3 separate regions of the Homo sapiens genome follow, and regions 1 and 2 are each linked to region 3. The links are contacts of gene promoters, found by promoter capture Hi-C in blood cells and fetal thymus (Javierre and others, 2016). All regions are on one chromosome and are shown on one strand. Each heading gives the region's core, a stretch centred on a gene start or on the middle of the fragment in contact. The rest is flanking DNA. Distances are from core to core; before and after follow the strand shown.

The links. The method cuts DNA at HindIII sites, captures the fragments that hold promoters and counts their contacts. A CHiCAGO score of 5 or more calls a contact.
Region 1: a contact is called between a fragment that was not itself captured here and the fragment with the promoter of RAD51B-AS1 in region 3, in 1 of 17 cell types (neutrophils). The highest score is 11.0, in neutrophils.
Region 2: a contact is called between a fragment that was not itself captured here and the fragment with the promoter of RAD51B-AS1 in region 3, in 1 of 17 cell types (neutrophils). The highest score is 5.7, in neutrophils.

Annotation. Positions count from the first base shown.
Region 1 is chr14:67,838,251-67,841,058 of GRCh38, reverse strand. All of the region lies in intron 4 of RAD51B (RAD51 paralog B), which reads right to left. Among named protein-coding and RNA genes, the nearest start is that of RAD51B, 20 kb to the right of the region's middle. The HindIII fragment of the contact is 6,831 bases long and covers 1-2,808 here.
Region 2 is chr14:67,881,111-67,884,090 of GRCh38, reverse strand. The region is part of intron 5 of RAD51B (RAD51 paralog B); the gene reads right to left. Among named protein-coding and RNA genes, the nearest start is that of RAD51B, 63 kb to the right of the region's middle. The HindIII fragment of the contact is 1,782 bases long and covers 604-2,385 here.
Region 3 is chr14:68,683,937-68,686,869 of GRCh38, reverse strand. RAD51B-AS1 (RAD51B antisense RNA 1) reads left to right here and starts at 1,430. Exons shown (of 4, transcript XR_007064220.1): 1 at 1,430-1,499. RefSeq lists enhancers at 1,093-1,142, 2,726-2,933. The HindIII fragment of the contact is 3,133 bases long and covers 184-2,933 here.

The DNA of each region.
Region 1 (2,808 bases), core at 209-2,708, 850 kb after region 3:
GGAGGCTGAGGTGGGCGGATCACTTGAGGCCAGGAGTTTGAGACCAGCCTGGCCAACATGGTGAAACCCCATCTCTACTAAAAAATAAAATTAGCTGGGCATGGTAGCACACACCTGTAATCCCAGCTACTCAGGAGGCTGAGGCACGAGAATCACTTGAACCTGGGAGGCAGAGGTTGCAGTGAGCCAAAAGTGCCACTGCCCTCCGGGCTGGGCAACAGAATGAGACTCTGTCCCAAAAAAAAAAAAAAAGTCAAAAAATAATAGATGCTGGAAAGGGTGCAGAGAAAATGGAATGCTTATACACTGTAGGTGGAAATATAAATTAGTTCAATCACTGTGCAAAGGAGTTTGGAGATCTCCCAAAGAACTTAAAACAGAGCTACCATTTGAGCCAGCAATCTCATTGCTGGATATATACCCAAAGGAAAATAAATCACTCTACCAAAAAGACATATGCACTCGTATGTTCACTGCCACAGTATCCACAATAGCAAAGACATGGAATCAACCTAAGTGCCCATCCATGGTAGAGTAGATAAAGAAAATGTGGTAAATATATACCATGGACTACTACACAGCCATAAAAAGAACAAAATCATGTCCTTTGCAGCAACATGGATGCAGCTCTTGGTCATTATCCTAAGTGAATTAACACAGGAACAGAAAACCAAAGACTGCATGTTCTCACTTATAAGTGGGAGCTAAACATTGGGTATACATGGACACAAAGATGGGAACAATCAACACTGGAGATTATTAGAAGGAGGAAGAAGGGAGCAGGGAAAAAGGCTAAAAAAACTACTTATTGGGGACTATGTTCAGTAGCTGAGAGATGGTATAAATCGTACCCCAAACCTCAGCATCACGCAATATACCAATGTAACAAACCTGTACATATACCCCCTGAACCTAAAATAAAATAGGGCACCCAATTATTAGAGAATAATCATTCTTTTCAAGCACACGTGCAACATTTATCAAAGTTCATCACATATTTAACCTTAAAAGATGTCTCAGGGAACTTCAAAAAATCAATATCATGCAAAGTTATCTGACAAAAATGCAATTAGATTAATAATGTAATTAAAATAAATTTTTTTAATTAAGTAATTTAGATATTTTAAAATTCCAAATGATACATGAGTCAAAGAAGCAATTGTGATGGGAATGTTTAAATACTTCTAGAACAGAATGAAAATGGAAATACTATATCTCAAAATAGAATGCTTCAAGAAAAATTCAGTCTTAAAAGGTCAGAGTAAAAAGAAAAACTGAAAATTAATAGATTAAATATCTAATTTAAGAAGTTAGAAGCAAAGAATAACCCCACAAAAAAATTAAATAAAAGGAGATAATAAGAAAATGGCAGAAATAAAGGAGGTAGAAGATGAAGAAATAATAGAGAAGACCAACAAAGAACAACAAAATGCAGAGTTCTTTAAAATGATGACATACATACTCAAACTTCTGACAAGATTTTTTTTAAAAGAGAGGGAGAAATAAAACAAAGTAAGTAATATCAGAAATGGAAAGGGGGACAAAAACCACATGTAAAACCAGATTTAAGAGCTGGAAGATTGTAATGAATAACTTTATTATAATAAATTTGAAAACATAAAGAAAATGGACAAATTCCTAAAAATCTCATTCACTGTAACTAATCAAGAAGAAATAGAAAATCTGAGTAGTCCTATAATCATTAAAGGAATTGAATTTTTAAAAAATCTTCTCAGAAGGAAAAATATCAAGATCAGACAATTTTTCAGACAAGTTCTACCAAATCTTCAAGGAACAAATAATTCCCATCATAGGCAAACTATTGCAGAATATTAAAAAAAGAGATATTCCATAATCCATTCTACCAAACTAGTATAAGATAAATACTAATTCAGACAAAGACACTACTAAAAGGAAAATTACAGCTGAATATCCATCCTAAATATTGAAAAATCTTAAATATTAGCAAACTGAATCCAACAGTTTATAAAAAAAGATAATATATCATGACCAAGTTGAACTTGTCCCAAAAATGCAATAGTAGTTTAACATCAGAAAAATCTATTAAATGTTTCTCACCATGCTATTAGACCAAAGATGAAAAATAATACAATCATTTCAATCAATGCAGAAAAAAAAGTTTTTGATAAAATGTAACACCAAATTAGTATTTTAGCTAGGAAATGGAGGAAAGTTCTTTATTTCTGATCAAGGATATCTACTTACAGCAAACATCACAGGTTTTTTTTTTTTTACTTTTTTATCTAGAAATAATTTTAAACTTACAGGAAAATGGTATTAATAAAAACAGAAGGCCAGGCGCAGTAGCTCACACCTGTAATCCCAACACGTTGGGAGGCCAGGGCAGAAAGGATCACTTGAGGTCAGGAGTTCAAGACCAGTCTGGGCAACATAGCAAGCCCTCATCTCTACAAAACATTTTAAAAAATTAGCCAGGCATGGTGGTGCACACCTGTAGTCCTAGCTACTTGGGAGGCTGAGGAAGGAGGATCATTTCAGCCCAGGAGTTTGAAGCTGCAGTGAGCTATGGTTGTGCCACTGCACTCCAGCCTAGGTGACACAGCTAGACCATGTATCTTTTTTTTTAATTTAAAATAAAAATAAATTAAAAATAAATAAAAACAATACAGAATATATATATGCATTCTTTTCCCACATCCACCCACCGTTAACATTTTGCCCAATTTACTTTATCGTTTTGCTAGCTCTCTCTTACCTCCACATGTGTGTATGTGCATGCGCATGTATGATACACAGTATGAAATCAGTATGTCAATCTACGCTCCC
Region 2 (2,980 bases), core at 245-2,744, 800 kb after region 3:
AACCAAATATAAATGCAATATTCGACATGCCTCACATTCATCCTAGTAACTTCTTGTGACAATCTTCATTGCAAAGATCTTTTTTGTTTAGGGCAAAAAACAGAAAATAACCTATCATTTGCTCCCAGACATTAATTACATAAAGTTTGAAAATAATGCCATCTAGTGGATATCTGTTTATAAAAAGCATTCTTTTCAAAATGAGCACTAAGATCCATTCATTCAACAAATATTTATTGAGGACCTACTATATGCCAGGCACTGTTCTGGGTGCTGAGAATATGGCAATGAACAACCACCACTACCAAAAGAAAAAGAAAAGCCCTTACCTCATAGGGTTTAAATTCTACTGAGGAAGACAAACAAATAAATATATATTATATATGAGGTAATAAGGCTGTAGAGGAAAATGAAGCAGGATGAGAGAATAGAATGTGACAGGTGGGGCTAGCGCTATTTTATATTTTATGTCAGGTGAACTGACAAAGCCTTATTAATAAGGTGACATTTGAGCAAAAGCTTAAAAGAGATAAGAAAATGAACCATGTGGATACCCAGTGAAACAGCACACAAGAATAGAGAATTATAACAAGTGCAAAAGCTTACATGTGGAAAGATGCCTGGTGTGTCTGAGAAACAACAAAGAGACTAAAGTATCTGGAACACAGAGAGTAAGAGGGAGAATAAAAGAAAACAAAGAGCTAGCCAAGGCCAAGATCACATAAGACCTTTAGGTCTGTGGTTTTTGTTTTTTTTTTTTTTGCTAAAGTGGTATTTTTTTTTTTTAGCTTTTATTTAGCAAAATAGGAAGCCTAGAAGCAGGAACAACATGATCTGACTTCTTTTTTTAAAAGGACTGCTCTAACTGCCCAATGGAGAAGAGGCTTGGGCAAGAATGAAAGCAAGGAGATCAGCTAGCACAGATAAGAGCTGGTAGTGACCAGTTAAGAGCTGGTAGTGACCTCACCCAGGGAAGTAACAGGTCAAGTGATGAGAAGTAACTAGACTCAAGATATAGTTCAAAAGAGGAGCTGAAAGAATTTCTTGGCCGGGCACGGTGGCTCACGCCTGCAATCCCAGCACCCTGGGAGGCCAAGGCAGGCGGATCACCTGAGGTCAGGAGTTCAAGACCAGCCTGGCCAACATGGCAAAACCCCGTCTCTACTAAAAATACAAAAATTAGCCAGGTGTGGTGACGGGCGCCTGTAATCCCAGCTACTCGGGAGGCTGAAGCAAGAGAATCGCTTGAATCTGGGAGATGGAGGTTGCAGTGAGCCAAGATCACGCCACTGCACTCAGCCTAGGCAACAGAGTGAGGCTCCGTCTCAAAAAAAAAAAGAAAGAATTTCTTGACTAATTGGGTGAGTGTCTAGAAGAATGGAATCACAACTTTATTGAAGCAGAAAAGACAAGATTCACATAAAGGTTTTGGTTATTGGTGTTATTTGCATGTTTTATTTCCTTCATGGGGGAAACAAAAATGCAGTTTTGGACATATCAGGAAATCCATGTATGTAAACCTATCCAAGTTCCATGTCATTACGCAAATGAATATGAATCTGAAGTTCATGGGAAAGCTCAGAATTCAGATATCAATAGGAGTTACAGCCTATAAAAGATTTTAAAGATCATAAGACCAGATGATATTAGGGATTGAGTACAGATATAGAAGAGAAAAGGTCCTAGGACTGAGTTCTGGGATTCCCCAAAGCCTAGAAGTTAAAATGATGAGGAGGATCCAGCAAAAGGGACTGAGAGGAGGAGGTGACCAAGAAGGTAGGTGTAAAAGAAGAGAGAATAGTTCCAAGAAGCCAAGTGGGCTGGGCATGGTGGCTCATGCCTATAATCCCAACACTTTAGGAGGCCAAGGCAGGAGGATCTCTTGAGCCCAGAAGTTTAAGACCAACCAGGGCAACATACCAAAACCTTATCTGTACTAAAAATTAAAAAATTAGCTGGGCATGGTGGCATATGCCTGTGGTCCCAGCTACTCGAGAGGCTGAGGTGAGAGGATTGCTTGAGTCTGAGGGGTCAAAGCTGCAGTGAACCATGATAGCACCACTGTACTCCAGCCTGGGTGACAGAGTTAGGTGAGAACCTGTCTAAAAAAATAAAAAGTCAAGGGAAGAGAGCTTTTCAAGAAAAAGTGAGTGATCAACTCTTTCGAATGCTGCTATTGGGTTGGATAAAATTTTTTAAATCAGTTGCATTATAGAGCTGGAAACTTAAGCCTGGATAGAGTGAACTCAAGAGAGAATGAAAGAAGGGATTTCCACTTTAGCCCACAAAGGATTAACTGGTACATGAATTGCACTAAAATAATAAGTAGAAAATCAGACAGAATACATGAAATAAGAGTTTTCAGGTACTGAACAATAGAAAGCTTGAGACTGTAATCCTTGAGAGAAAGGAAACAAACACAATGAGCTTACAATCACCTCAGTTTGCTCCAGAGGCAGTTTCCAGGCTGCAACACAAGAAAGGGAAAGTAAACAGAGCCTGGTAGACAACCTGAGTTGAGGAGATGGGGATCGGAGTTTGGGAAAGCTAAGGTGGCTAGAACTTATGGGGCAGAGTACCAGAGAGGAAGCAGGTGTGCAGAGTGAGCACTGCAAAGATCTGCAGAGAGGGCCACTTGAGAACTAATCTGCACATGTGTGAAGGGAAACTACTTGAGGTTGAGGAAAGAACCACCAGAAAGTATCAGACTGAACACTTCCTAGTGCCCACACAGGGTGAGAACAGTTCGGGTTTACACAAGGTGAAGAATAAAGAGACCTTATTATACACTGGGCATTGGGCAGAATTTTCAGAAGGATTTTACCTTAGTAGTGAAGCTAAATAAGTTTCAGAATAAAAAACCACAGTCATGTGCTGCATAACGACATTTCAGTCAATGATGCATCACTTATACAACAGTGGTCCCATAAGCTTATATAGTATATTTTTACAATACCTTTCCTTTGTTTAGATACACAAA
Region 3 (2,933 bases), core at 181-2,680:
CACAAGAACCCTGCGTGACTCCACGTATGCAAGGTACTTAGAGTAGTCAAAATCATAAAGATGAAAAGGAGAATGGTAGTTGCCAGGGGCTGTGAGGAGGGGAAAGAGGAGTCAGTGTTTAATGGGCACAGAGTTTCAGTTTGGAAAGATGAAAAAGTTCTGGAGAGAGATGACGGGGAAGCTTATACAACGATGTGAATGTACTTAATGCCACTGAATTGTACACTTAAACATGGGTAAAATGGTAGCTTTTACGTTAGGTATATTTTACCAGGATAAAAAGTTTTTTGTGTTTGAAAATATACCCTCTAATAGACTCAGAGTTGCTGACAGGCCCTCTCCATGGGTTGATGTAACCGTCTCCTTACCTCAAGACGAGGTTGACCCATCCAAGATTGGAGGGAACTTATCCTATTTTCAGATTATTTCCAGGGAAGGGAGCCCATGACATTATTAGGCAATCTTTTCCAGTGTCTCAAAACCCCAGACATTCTGGGTACCAGACCTTTCCTGCTGCACCTGAAGTTGATTTTCCTTGGTCAGTAAGTGCTTTGTCAGGCCACAGACTTTTCATGCACTCAAAGGCTCTAGTTACACCATCCCTAGCGTAGATCTGATGGTGCCAAGTAACAAGCCAGCAAGTGGACTTTGGAGGCCCAGCAAGCCTCCCTGTCTCACAGGCTTCTCATCAGTATAATGGATAAACAGTGCGAGGCTTGGATTCCTAAGCAGTCCTGGGACACAGGCCCCGCCAGGCCCTGGCAGGTGAAGAGCCTACCATTTCTCACTTCATTTAGGATGTATAATAGTTTGTTGGACGCTAGAACTGTACCCTTTCAGATCTGTGTCTTTACTTTTCAGCTGGAGGCCTCTTGCTGACAGGGTAGCGTTTCCCAAAGACACGGGAGCTGAGCTGGTGAGTCATTTCAACAGCCCTTACACTCTCCTCTGACCAGAGACCACATGACATATTAATCAGCTGCTTGAAAGGTATACCTGGCAGGCATGTTTCCTGCAGCCTGGAAGATGCTGACCTCGTCAGCTTTGAAACATCAAAGGGCTAACAAGAGAACAACAGGCTGAGAAAGACCTCATCACCTGGGTGCCTGTTGACCGCAGCCTTGTAAGGCCCAACACAGCTGAGATGTGCTGTCTGGAGCTCGGAGGAAGTGGAGCTTTTTCTGCTGTGAGGACCCGCCTTCAGCCCCCTTTTGGGGCACAGGAAGGGGAGGGAGTGAGCCTAAATTGTGGCCCCATGCTTAGTGACTCAGATGTTACTGCTACCACAAAGGGAAATTCATGTGGGGGTGGACATCTCCAGAGACCTCACTCACCTGTGATTTGGGGGATAATAGCATCACTCATGTGTTCACGTGCCAGGCCTGTCACCCCGGAACATTAGTCAAAGGGCTGTGTTGACAGTGATTTCAACTCTTGAATTATACGAAGGACCTGGCCGCAAGAAGGCATTGAGCCCCGAGGAGGACAACAGGCCTCAGGTACTTCATGTGATTAAAGCTGAGACAAGGGGAGTCCCATGGGTCAGTCCTGTAACTGGGGTCTGATATACACTAGTGATAGGCATTAGCATAGTTTGCACATTATATGATAGTCTTGGTCCTTTTCATTTCCTGATAAGCTGGAATGTCTGACAGAGTAAATTCCAGATGCCCTTGTGGAATTCTCATTACGATCATGTTGCTAAGGAACTGTCTTCTACCTGTATGCAATTTGGAAATACTATTAATAGTATTAACATGGAGTTTTGCAGTGTGTGGGTTTATTTCTTATTGTATTTATAATCACCCCCACCACTACCTTCCCACCGCTGGCTCACCATCTGAGGAGCTGGCATCAGGAAACTCAAGAAAGAAGGAAGGAAGGAAGGAAGGAAGGAAGGAAGGAAGGAAAGAAGGAAGGAAGGAAGGGAAAGGTTGTCCAGGCTTCACAGGAAGAACTGCATTTGTATTATTCTGTATTGAATTCTCAGGACCTCCACATTGCAGGCATCTAGAGGCTCCAATTAATAGTTGATAAATCTTGAAGGGAGGAAAAAATAGTCACAGAAAGTTCACTTGAGTGACCTGAAATTCTATAGCAATTTAGCCAGGGAGCCGGGAGGAGAATATGCCCTTCCAACTTGCAGGCCAGCTCTCTGCAGGAAGCCAGGCAGCTCTCCCAGGGGAAGCAGTGGCCAGGGCAAGCATGGGTCTTGAAGCTCAGGACTGGCTTTAGGACTCTGGCTCAGACAAGATGGGTGGCTCAAAGGTATTGAAGGGCTAGGTAGGGCCCTGAAAATTGGGCCTTTCTGCAGCAATCATCAGGGAGACTAATGGTCCTGGGCTAGGGAAGGAGTCTTCTTGGCCCAGAATGGCCAAGCAGCCAAATATTAGAGCACCTCCAGGGAGGTGTCCCTGGAAAGGGTCCTCCCCCAGTCAGCTCCTGCGGAGTGCAGGCAGGTTTGGGGGTCTCTCCTCTAGGAGAGATCCAGGGAGCTTGAGAGCAAAAGTGACAATGTGCCTGCCTTCTTCCTTCTCTGTAGGGCTCTGTTCTCTTTCTTCTTTTTTGAGGCAGGATCTTTTGCTTTATTGTCCAGGTTGGAGTGCAGTGGCATGATCACGGCTCACTGCAGCCTCAGCCTCCTGGGCTCAAGCAATCCTCCCACCTCAGCTTCCTGAGTAGCTGAGACCATGCCTGGCTAATTTTTAAGTTTTTTTGTAGAGACGAGGTCTCATTGTGTTGCCCAGGCTGGTCTTGAACTCCTGGGCTCAAGCAATTCTCCCACCTCAGCCTCCCAAAGCACTGGGATTATAGGCGTGAGCCACTGTGTCTGGCCTGCTCTCTTTCTTAAGGAGAAGGCTTCTGTTATTTTTTGGTCAATTGGGTGCAGAAAGCCTGTTCCCCATGGACAACCCTTGAGGGGGTCAGAATGT